Regions from separate parts of the Homo sapiens genome. Here region 2 is linked to region 1. Evidence: promoter capture Hi-C in human tissues and cell types (Jung and others, 2019). All regions are on one chromosome and are shown on one strand. The core of a region is centred on a gene start or on the middle of the fragment in contact, and the rest is flanking DNA. Distances in the headings are between cores, read along the strand shown. Region 1 holds the start of HSPA5 (heat shock protein family A (Hsp70) member 5). Region 2 holds the start of MIR181A2HG (MIR181A2 host gene).

The links. The method cuts DNA at HindIII sites, captures the fragments that hold promoters and counts their contacts. A contact is called where the count stands out against the background at its distance.
Region 2: a contact is called between a fragment that was not itself captured here and the fragment with the promoter of HSPA5 in region 1, in 1 of the 25 tissues and cell types used here (mesenchymal stem cells).

The regions. Positions count from the first base shown.
Region 1 is chr9:125,239,385-125,243,946 of GRCh38, reverse strand. HSPA5 (heat shock protein family A (Hsp70) member 5) reads left to right here and starts at 2,604. Exons shown (of 8, transcript NM_005347.5): 1 at 2,604-2,942; 2 at 3,040-3,271; 3 at 3,638-3,775; 4 at 4,414-4,526. The coding sequence starts at 2,821. HSPA5-DT (HSPA5 divergent transcript) reads right to left here and starts at 2,291. Exons shown (of 3, transcript NR_186826.1): 1 at 1,884-2,291. RefSeq lists enhancers at 2,006-2,315, 1,965-2,469, 2,283-2,577, 2,470-2,974, 3,116-3,195. The HindIII fragment of the contact is 17,872 bases long and covers 1-4,562 here.
Region 2 is chr9:124,655,628-124,660,189 of GRCh38, reverse strand. All of the region lies in intron 2 of NR6A1 (nuclear receptor subfamily 6 group A member 1), which reads left to right. MIR181A2HG (MIR181A2 host gene) reads right to left here and starts at 1,754. Exons shown (of 2, transcript NR_038975.1): 1 at 1,449-1,754. RefSeq lists enhancers at 717-766, 1,588-1,707. The HindIII fragment of the contact is 3,606 bases long and covers 121-3,726 here.

The DNA of each region.
Region 1 (4,562 bases), core at 1,355-3,854:
GAGATAATGCACGTACGTCTTTAGCACAGTGTCTAACAGTTAAGTATTGATAACTTGACCTGGATATTATTTTTGGCATTTAATGTTCAGCAAGCTAGTTTTGACCATGTACTTTCCTATTCGTAAGTGACTGTGCTTTGGAATATACTAGAAAATGTATGTAAAATGTCTGGTTTTAAAAAGATGAAACCACAATATATTCAATTCCCTTTGGAAGTTAGCCATGTATCGCTTTTCTAAATTTTACAAAAAGGAGAGTTACAAAACGTTACTCTGTTAATCAAGGATAAGGCTGAAATGGAGAGTTTTTTTTTTTAATGGAAATGGACTGCACTATAAAAACATTTGATTGAAATGAAAGAAGCTGTAATGTGGTCAAATGATGATTTCTATCTTAATGCTGGACTGATGCAAGCCAAAGAAGGGTCAATGTTGCCGCAGGATTACAAGCCCTGCTGAAAGAGATGCATGATGCAACCTCTGTAGTGAACAGAGTCAACTCTTGAGTCACCAGTCTAACCTTTGAGAAGCACTAAGGAAAAAGAAAATTCTTGAGTACTGAGTCACAGGCTCAACATCTTAATAAAGTGTGTTTAGGATGTTTTAGTGGTATCTGGACACAGTATACCCATGAATCTCAAATATTTCATATCAGAGCTTTGCCCTTTCCATAGTAGGTCCTCCAAAAACATTCCTCAAACAAATGAATTTTTTTTTTTTTTTTGAGATGGAGTCTAGCTCTGCTGCCCAGGCTGGAGTGTAGTGACGTGATCTCGGCTCACTGCAACCTCCACCTCCCGGGTTCAAGCGATTCTCCTGCCTCAGCCTCCCGAGTAGCTGGGACTACAGGCATGCACCACCACGCCCAGCTAATTTTTGGATTTTTATAGAGATGGGGTTTCATCGTGTTACCCCGGATGGTCTTGATCTCCTGACCCCGTGATCCGCCCACCTCGGCCTCCCAAAGTGTTGGGATTACAGGCGTGAGCCACCACGCCCGGCCACAGATGAATTTTTTGTTTTAAAGTTAAGAGATCAGGCACAGTGTCTCACACCTGTAATCCCAGCACTTTGGGAGGCCGAGGTGGGCAGATCGCTTGAGGTTGGGAGTTCGAAACCAGCCTGGCTAAAATGGTGAAACCTCATCTCCACAAAAAAAAAAAAAAAAAAATTAGCCAGGCATGGTGGTGCGTGCCTGTAATCCCAGCTACTCAGGAGGCTGAGGCAGGAGAATCGCTTGAACCCCGGAAGCGGAGGTTGCAGTGAGCTGAGATTGCACTACTGAACTCCAGCCTGGGCGTGACAGAGTGATACTCCGTCTTGAAAAAAAAAAAAGTATTGGCAATAGAGTGAACTCCACCTGGTTATCAATCCTAACTCCATCACTCACCAGCTCTGTGACTTGTTTAGTTATTTAATCTTTTTCAGTTTCAATGTCCTCATCTGGAAAACGGGAAATGCCTACCGAGTATTGAACTGTCAAGACTAAATGACACATGAAAAGCACACTGAACAATGCTTAATCCACGGTAGGCTTTCAGCAAATAGTGGTCTCTATTATTTTTTGCAACAGGATGTTATATAAGAATAAGGCATTATCAAGACGATTTTCGCCTATCAAATGTGTTGTCTGCGTGTACATCAGACCTTTTCCTGGAATGAAGGTAGAAAAGTATCAACAATAAAGGATGGAGAAAGCCCCGTAAATGATAACCTTTGCCCCAGAGGGAAAGGATGGGCAGCGGAGGGGAAAGTAAAGGGTGGCAAGCTAGAAAAATTAGACATCCAGTGTGGGAGGGCTGGCACTGGAGTGGGTTGCCACAGTAGGGAGGGGACTCAGAGCTGGAGGCAATTCCTTTGGCCGGGCTTGTCCTGCGACTTACCGTGGGGCAGCGCAATGTGGAGAGGCCTGGTAAAATGGCTGGGCAAGGGTGCGGAGGGGACATAACTGGCAGGAAGGAGTCATGATTCGTGGTCGAACAGAGTCCAGACCAGCTCGACCTGTGAGCAACGAACGGCCCTGAGACTCGCATACCCCAATACCGGTAGTGGCCGTGAAGGGCAAAGAAATGTGTTCTGAGGCGATCCCAGCATCTAAGCTGCGACTGGTCTACTCAGAGACTGGATGGAAGCTGGGAAGAGAAAGCTGCTTCCCGCTTCGGGGTGAGGGATGGAGGAAGGGAGAACAAGCAGTAGAGAAGAAAAAGTTTCAGATCCCACAGCCCCGGGGGGTCACTCCTGCTGGACCTACTCCGACCCCCTAGGGCCGGGAGTGAAGGCGGGACTTGTGCGGTTACCAGCGGAAATGCCTCGGGGTCAGAAGTCGCAGGAGAGATAGACAGCTGCTGAACCAATGGGACCAGCGGATGGGGCGGATGTTATCTACCATTGGTGAACGTTAGAAACGAATAGCAGCCAATGAATCAGCTGGGGGGGGCGGAGCAGTGACGTTTATTGCGGAGGGGGCCGCTTCGAATCGGCGGCGGCCAGCTTGGTGGCCTGGGCCAATGAACGGCCTCCAACGAGCAGGGCCTTCACCAATCGGCGGCCTCCACGACGGGGCTGGGGGAGGGTATATAAGCCGAGTAGGCGACGGTGAGGTCGACGCCGGCCAAGACAGCACAGACAGATTGACCTATTGGGGTGTTTCGCGAGTGTGAGAGGGAAGCGCCGCGGCCTGTATTTCTAGACCTGCCCTTCGCCTGGTTCGTGGCGCCTTGTGACCCCGGGCCCCTGCCGCCTGCAAGTCGGAAATTGCGCTGTGCTCCTGTGCTACGGCCTGTGGCTGGACTGCCTGCTGCTGCCCAACTGGCTGGCAAGATGAAGCTCTCCCTGGTGGCCGCGATGCTGCTGCTGCTCAGCGCGGCGCGGGCCGAGGAGGAGGACAAGAAGGAGGACGTGGGCACGGTGGTCGGCATCGACCTGGGGACCACCTACTCCTGGTAAGTGGGGTTGCGGATGCAGGGGGACGGGGCGTGGCCGCCTGGCCTGGCGTGAGAAGTGCGGTGCTGATGTCCCTCTGTCGGGTTTTTCTGCCAGCGTCGGCGTGTTCAAGAACGGCCGCGTGGAGATCATCGCCAACGATCAGGGCAACCGCATCACGCCGTCCTATGTCGCCTTCACTCCTGAAGGGGAACGTCTGATTGGCGATGCCGCCAAGAACCAGCTCACCTCCAACCCCGAGAACACGGTCTTTGACGCCAAGCGGCTCATCGGCCGCACGTGGAATGACCCGTCTGTGCAGCAGGACATCAAGTTCTTGCCGTTCAAGGTTCGACCGGGTTTTTCTCATCCAGTTAGAGAACGGGTGGGTGGTGGGAGTATTTAGAGTTATAAGTCTCTGGAAAAGTGTTGAGACAACAGTTGAAGGTTATAGACATGATGTATGTAATAACTTTAATACTATTAGTATGTTACAAAACTTAAGACAGTTGCTGTCGTACTGTCTACGATAGTTTAGGAATAAAAGACCGATTAAAACTGAACTTTGTAAGACACCTATACTCCCTGAAGTATTTCTAGTCAATTTGCAGCCCCAAGGGACCAAAATAAACCAAATTGTGGGGATGGTAGTGGGTCTTTTAAACTTTGAGATGTCATTGTATCTGTGTCTGAAAACAATAATTCTTTAAAATAGGTGGTTGAAAAGAAAACTAAACCATACATTCAAGTTGATATTGGAGGTGGGCAAACAAAGACATTTGCTCCTGAAGAAATTTCTGCCATGGTTCTCACTAAAATGAAAGAAACCGCTGAGGCTTATTTGGGAAAGAAGGTAAATATTTCTAGAACAATGTTAAGTATTTTTTGATCATTAGTATTCTCGGTTGGCTGTTATGTATAGAAGCCTTCGTGAAGGGTTTCAAAAATTTTAATCAGAATGGTATTCATGCTTGTCAGGTTTAATTATTGAGTCCCTTACTATAAGCCAAACAAAATAGACTTTTCATGTATTATTTAATGCTTACAATTCCAGGGACATAAAATTTTATATGTTGTATTCATCAATAAGTTGGCTTAAAAACTAAAGTGATGGTTTGACTGTAATTTTTTTTTTTTGAGATGGAGTCTTGCTCTGTTGCCCAGGCTGGACTGCAGTGGCACGATCTCAGCTCACTGCAACCTCTGCCTCCCGGGTTCAAGCAGCTCTCCTGCCTCAGCCTCCCAAGTAACTGGAACTACAGGCACACCACCACACCTGGCTAATTTTTTTTTTTTTTTTTAATTTTCAGTAGAGACAGGGTTTCTCCACATTGCCCAGGCTGGTCTTGAAATCCTGCCCTCAGGTGATCCTCCTGCCTCAGCCTCCCAAAGTGCTGGGATTATAGGCAGAAGCCACCGCCTGGCCAGACTGTAATTTAAATAAGGGTTAAACTATGTGACAATACACTTAATTATCTTTTATCCTTTTAGGTTACCCATGCAGTTGTTACTGTACCAGCCTATTTTAATGATGCCCAACGCCAAGCAACCAAAGACGCTGGAACTATTGCTGGCCTAAATGTTATGAGGATCATCAACGAGCCGTAAGTATGAAATTCAGGGATACGGCATATTTGCCA
Region 2 (4,562 bases), core at 674-3,173, 580 kb after region 1:
AAGTAGCTTTTCACTTAGAACACTGTTATTTTCTCTTTAAAGTTTTCTACCTTACATTTATTATAGCATAGTTATCTTTATAGCATAGATGCAGAAAGTAAGAGAGAGCTTGTTTTTTCAAGAAAACAACCCTTTAAAATACTTTCCAACCCATGAAGGGAAAAATCCTCCTTTTTTCCCCCAAGTGCATTCTACTTATTACTTTGCATTTTTCTCCCAAAGTCCAAATTTATGCAAAGAAAATAGAAACAAGTTCAAATGCAATGCATTAACCAAATAAAACAAGTCTGCTTCAAATTAGGAACCAACCTAAGCATTTGTAAAGTGTAGCAGAATCAGAATTCTTTTAAAAATTAGATTTGGAACCTGAACTATATAATTCATAATTCTCATTTTTCTGTGGAAAATTATTTTATCTTTCTCCTGTATACCTGAAAAAATGTCCATAGGCTTAAAGGGTCATGCTTTTACATTCCTTCCATATCACAGGTACTATGAAGTAAGGAGACTTTTAGGTTTCTTTTTGTCTTAAACTCAGACAGCTTTGTAAGCAGTAGTGTGTAGATTACAAGAGTTAGACAAAAGCAGGCGCGACTGAGAAGAGTTGGTGGGGGAGAAGCTTGGGGCACTTCCTGTCACTCAACACATTCCAGATCACTAAAAAATTTCCACACCCTCTGCATTCCCCCTTGCCCACTCCAGTTCCCGGTATTTTCTGATTCCATATGTTGTGGTATTTACCATACTTCTCTCCCTCACTAGGCTCTGGCAAGACTGCTTCAGAGGGGATGCATTCCTTTAGATTGCACAAAGCGGAGCTGGGAAAATGGCTGGCAGTTTCAGAATCTAGTCACGATCGCACGCATGAGCACCTCACACATCCATGTCCCTACCCGCCCCCCCGCTCCCGCCCCTGCAGCTGGCTGACCTGTCTCACCCACTGCTGGCCTATCGAACGGCCAGGACTGTCTGGTTTTGGCTCGTGCCTTTGTCCATGTCTGGCTTAGTTCCTCTCTGTCTATGCTTGCCTCTACCCCCACCGCCCCAGGCGGCACAAGTGTTTGGCCACACAAAACTAGAGATAGAAAAGGTGGTAAAAACTTCAAACTTTTCTAAATTCTCCAACAGTTTATTTCTTGTGAATTTCTTCCTTCTTTAAATACTCCATTTTAAGAAAACAAAAAAATTAATTATCTAAAGGCAAAGAATGGAAAGCAACCTTTGTGTTCCTTATAATAACTGACTTCATAACTCTCTCCAGCTGCGTTATGGGATGTGTATAAAAAGCTTCTGTTCTGAGAACAAAGGAGCACGTGCAGAAATGAGACGAAAAAATCCACTGACAGTATTCCATTACACAAATTACTTAAAAGATTTTAGTCAAGCCCCTCAACAGATTCAATTTTAAAATGGCTTTTAGTTAAAAAAAAAAAATTGAAAGTGCTTACCCAGTAAAAGAACCGAAGTAGTCCTGAACTGTTACGTAAGACTTTTTACAGTTGGATCTTTGTCAAAAGGGGATGGGGGTGATGGGAGAAAGCAGCAACGACAATCAAAAAAGTTCGAGCTGCTGTGGCTAGAGGACAACTTCTGTGTTTCCAGATAGGATTCTTGCTGTAGAAATGGAACTTCCAGCCAGCACAGCATCCTGTCCCAGTAGAGAAATGAGTTTGTCAGTTAAAACAAAAAAAAAATTAGATACTGGAACCCAGGCTAGACGAGGTATTGAACCGCGCCAGATTTCCTTGCAGCCCTGTCTGCTCAGCTCGCATTGAACTATATATGACCCAGATGATGGACAGAAGCACATTTAGTCATGTGCACACTGGAAGAAAGCGGATTTGCTGGTCCCTGGCAGTGCAGGGGTTTGTCTTCTGATTGGGCTGTGCCCTGATCGGTGAAATGTGAAGCCCTCACCATTCAGAGGCCGTAATTCAGGACTGGCAGTTTGAGTGTCTGGCTGCCTCTAGTCACTGAGAGACTTTGAAGGTGTTGCTTTTGTTTGGTGGCATTACCCACCCAGAGGTTGCTTACACCTCTCTACTTGTGTCAGAAGAAATACTAGTCTTTCTGAAATACAAATAGGCAGCCGATTTTTCCTGAATCCTAAATCACCCTATTGTTGATAAACTTGGCTCTAACTGAAACCAATTATTTGATTTGAAAATTTATTGTGATCCTAACCAAGCTTCATATCCAGACCAACCCTTGGTCTTGATTTTATAGGTTTGATAAGGTAAAAATAAAAGTGGCATATTTGACTTTGAAGCCTCTATATGATATAAATTGCTCTTAATGAAAATTGGATAGATGGACAACAGAGAAGTGAAGTTTTAGATTCTGGAGTGTTTGGATGTATGAGGAAGAAGCTTTATGTCTTTTTATCCCCTTTGTGAGACTGTCACTCTTGTCCCAGTCCTAGTCACATTAGGGGTTGCTGGGGGGGGGAAGCTATGAAAGCATGGACCCTACTGAGCTGTGACATAGCCTTTAATCATGCAAGACAGCCACGGTCTGCTCTCTTCAGTCTGTCTGAACTAGGGTCCTTGGGGTTTATTTTCCATCTTTCTGAGCCACTGGGAAACCAGGTCATTATACAGGACTGTCATTTGTGACATTTTTGTTTAGTACATGGCAGTTGCTTTGTTTATTTAATGCAAGTTGACACTTCTTTAAAGTTTCAAAACAGTAAAGTTGTTTTGTGAGACCTTGACTCTGATATATGAAATCTACTCTACATGGACCAATCATTTTTTTCCGTGGACTTTCTTGTCTCTTTAGAAATTAGCTTATAGAGTCCTAAATTGATACTTAAACATACCAATAGTTCTGTTTATTTCTTGCCTTTCTCACAGTTGTTGAAATAATTCCATCTGTCTCTTTTGCTGTAAATTTTGGGTTTGGATGTTTGTACTTGGAATTTTTTAGATGTTGACTATATTATGCAGCACCTTCCATATGAGGACTACCCCAGAATTATTCTCTTGTCTTAACCCGAGAAAAGCTGTTTTGATGCACTATTAGATATAAGAATGTTCGAAAGAAGAGGAGATGAGCACTCTCTTGCTTTTTGTAAGCCACAAGACAATCTTTTTTTTTTCTAAGTTGTGGTAAGGTATATGTAACATAAAATTGACTGTTGTAATAATTTTTAAGTGTATAGTTCTGTGGTGTTAAGTGCATTCACGTTGTTTTGCAGCCTTCACCACCATCCATCCACCACAGAACTCTTCTCCTCTTGCAAAACTGAAATTCTCTACCTACCTGTTAAACACTAACTTGCCATTCTTCCCTCCCCCAGGCCCTGGGGACAACCATCATTCTACTTTCTCTTTGATTTTTTGTTTTTTGTTTTTGGAGACGGAATTTTACTCTTGTTGCCCAAGCTGGGATGCAATGGCACTGTCTTGGCTCACTGCAACTTCCGCCTCCTGGGTTCAAGCAATTCTCCTTCCTCAGCCTCCTGAGTAGCTGGGACTACAGGTGCCCACCACCACGCCTGGCTAGTTTTTGTATTTTTAGTAGACACGGGGTTTCACCATGTTGGCCAGGCTGGTCTCGAACTCGTGATCTCAAGTGATCCACCCACCTTGGCCTCCCAAAATCCTAGAATTACAGGCATGAGCCCACCGTGCCTAGCCTCTGTCTGTTTGCTTTTTGACTACTCTAGATACCTCATATAAGTGGAATAATACAAGATGTGTTCCCTTTTGACAGGCTTATTTCACTTAGCATGGTGTCCTCAAGGTTCATGCATGTTGTCGCATGTCAGAATTTCCTTACGTTTTAAGGCTGAATAATATACCATTGCATGTGTATACTACTGTCTTAGTCCCTTTAGTGTTGCTGTAAAGGAATACCTGAGGCTGGGTAATTTATAAAGAAAAGAGGTTTATTTGGCTCATGGTTCTGCAAGCTGTACAAGAAGCATGGCACCAGCTTCTGGTGAGGGCCTCAAGCTGCCTCCATTCATGGCACAAGGTGAAAGGGAGCTGGTGTGTGCAGAGATCACATGGTAGGAGAGGAGGAGGCAAGAGAGAGAAGAAGGAGGTGCCAGACTACTTTAAAACCATCAGCTTTTGCAGGGAGTTATAGAGCCAGCACTCACTGACTACTGCAAGAATGGCACCAAGACATTCATGAGGGATCTGCCTTCATGACCCAGACACCTCCCACCAGGCCCCACCACCAACATAAGGGGTTAGATTTCAGCATGAGACTCAATGAGGGGGGAGCAAACAAATTACATCCAAACTGTAGCAACCACATTTTGTTTATCCATTCATCTGTCAATGGACACTTAAGTAGCTTCCACTTTTTTGCTATCAAGACAGTTTTTCTTGACTATTCTTAAAATCATGTGAGGGCTTCTTTACAGAGCTGTTCTGACCCATCTCAGAAGCTCTTTTCACTTTATAAGTTGTAAGGGTTTTGATGGGCCTTTTAACTCTAGAGACCAGCTAGTCCCTAACATCAGGTTTGCTAGAGAAGGGAAGATTCTTTCCAGCCTTCCTGGATGACACCTAATACATACTATATTCCTAGTAATTCTGTTATACTTA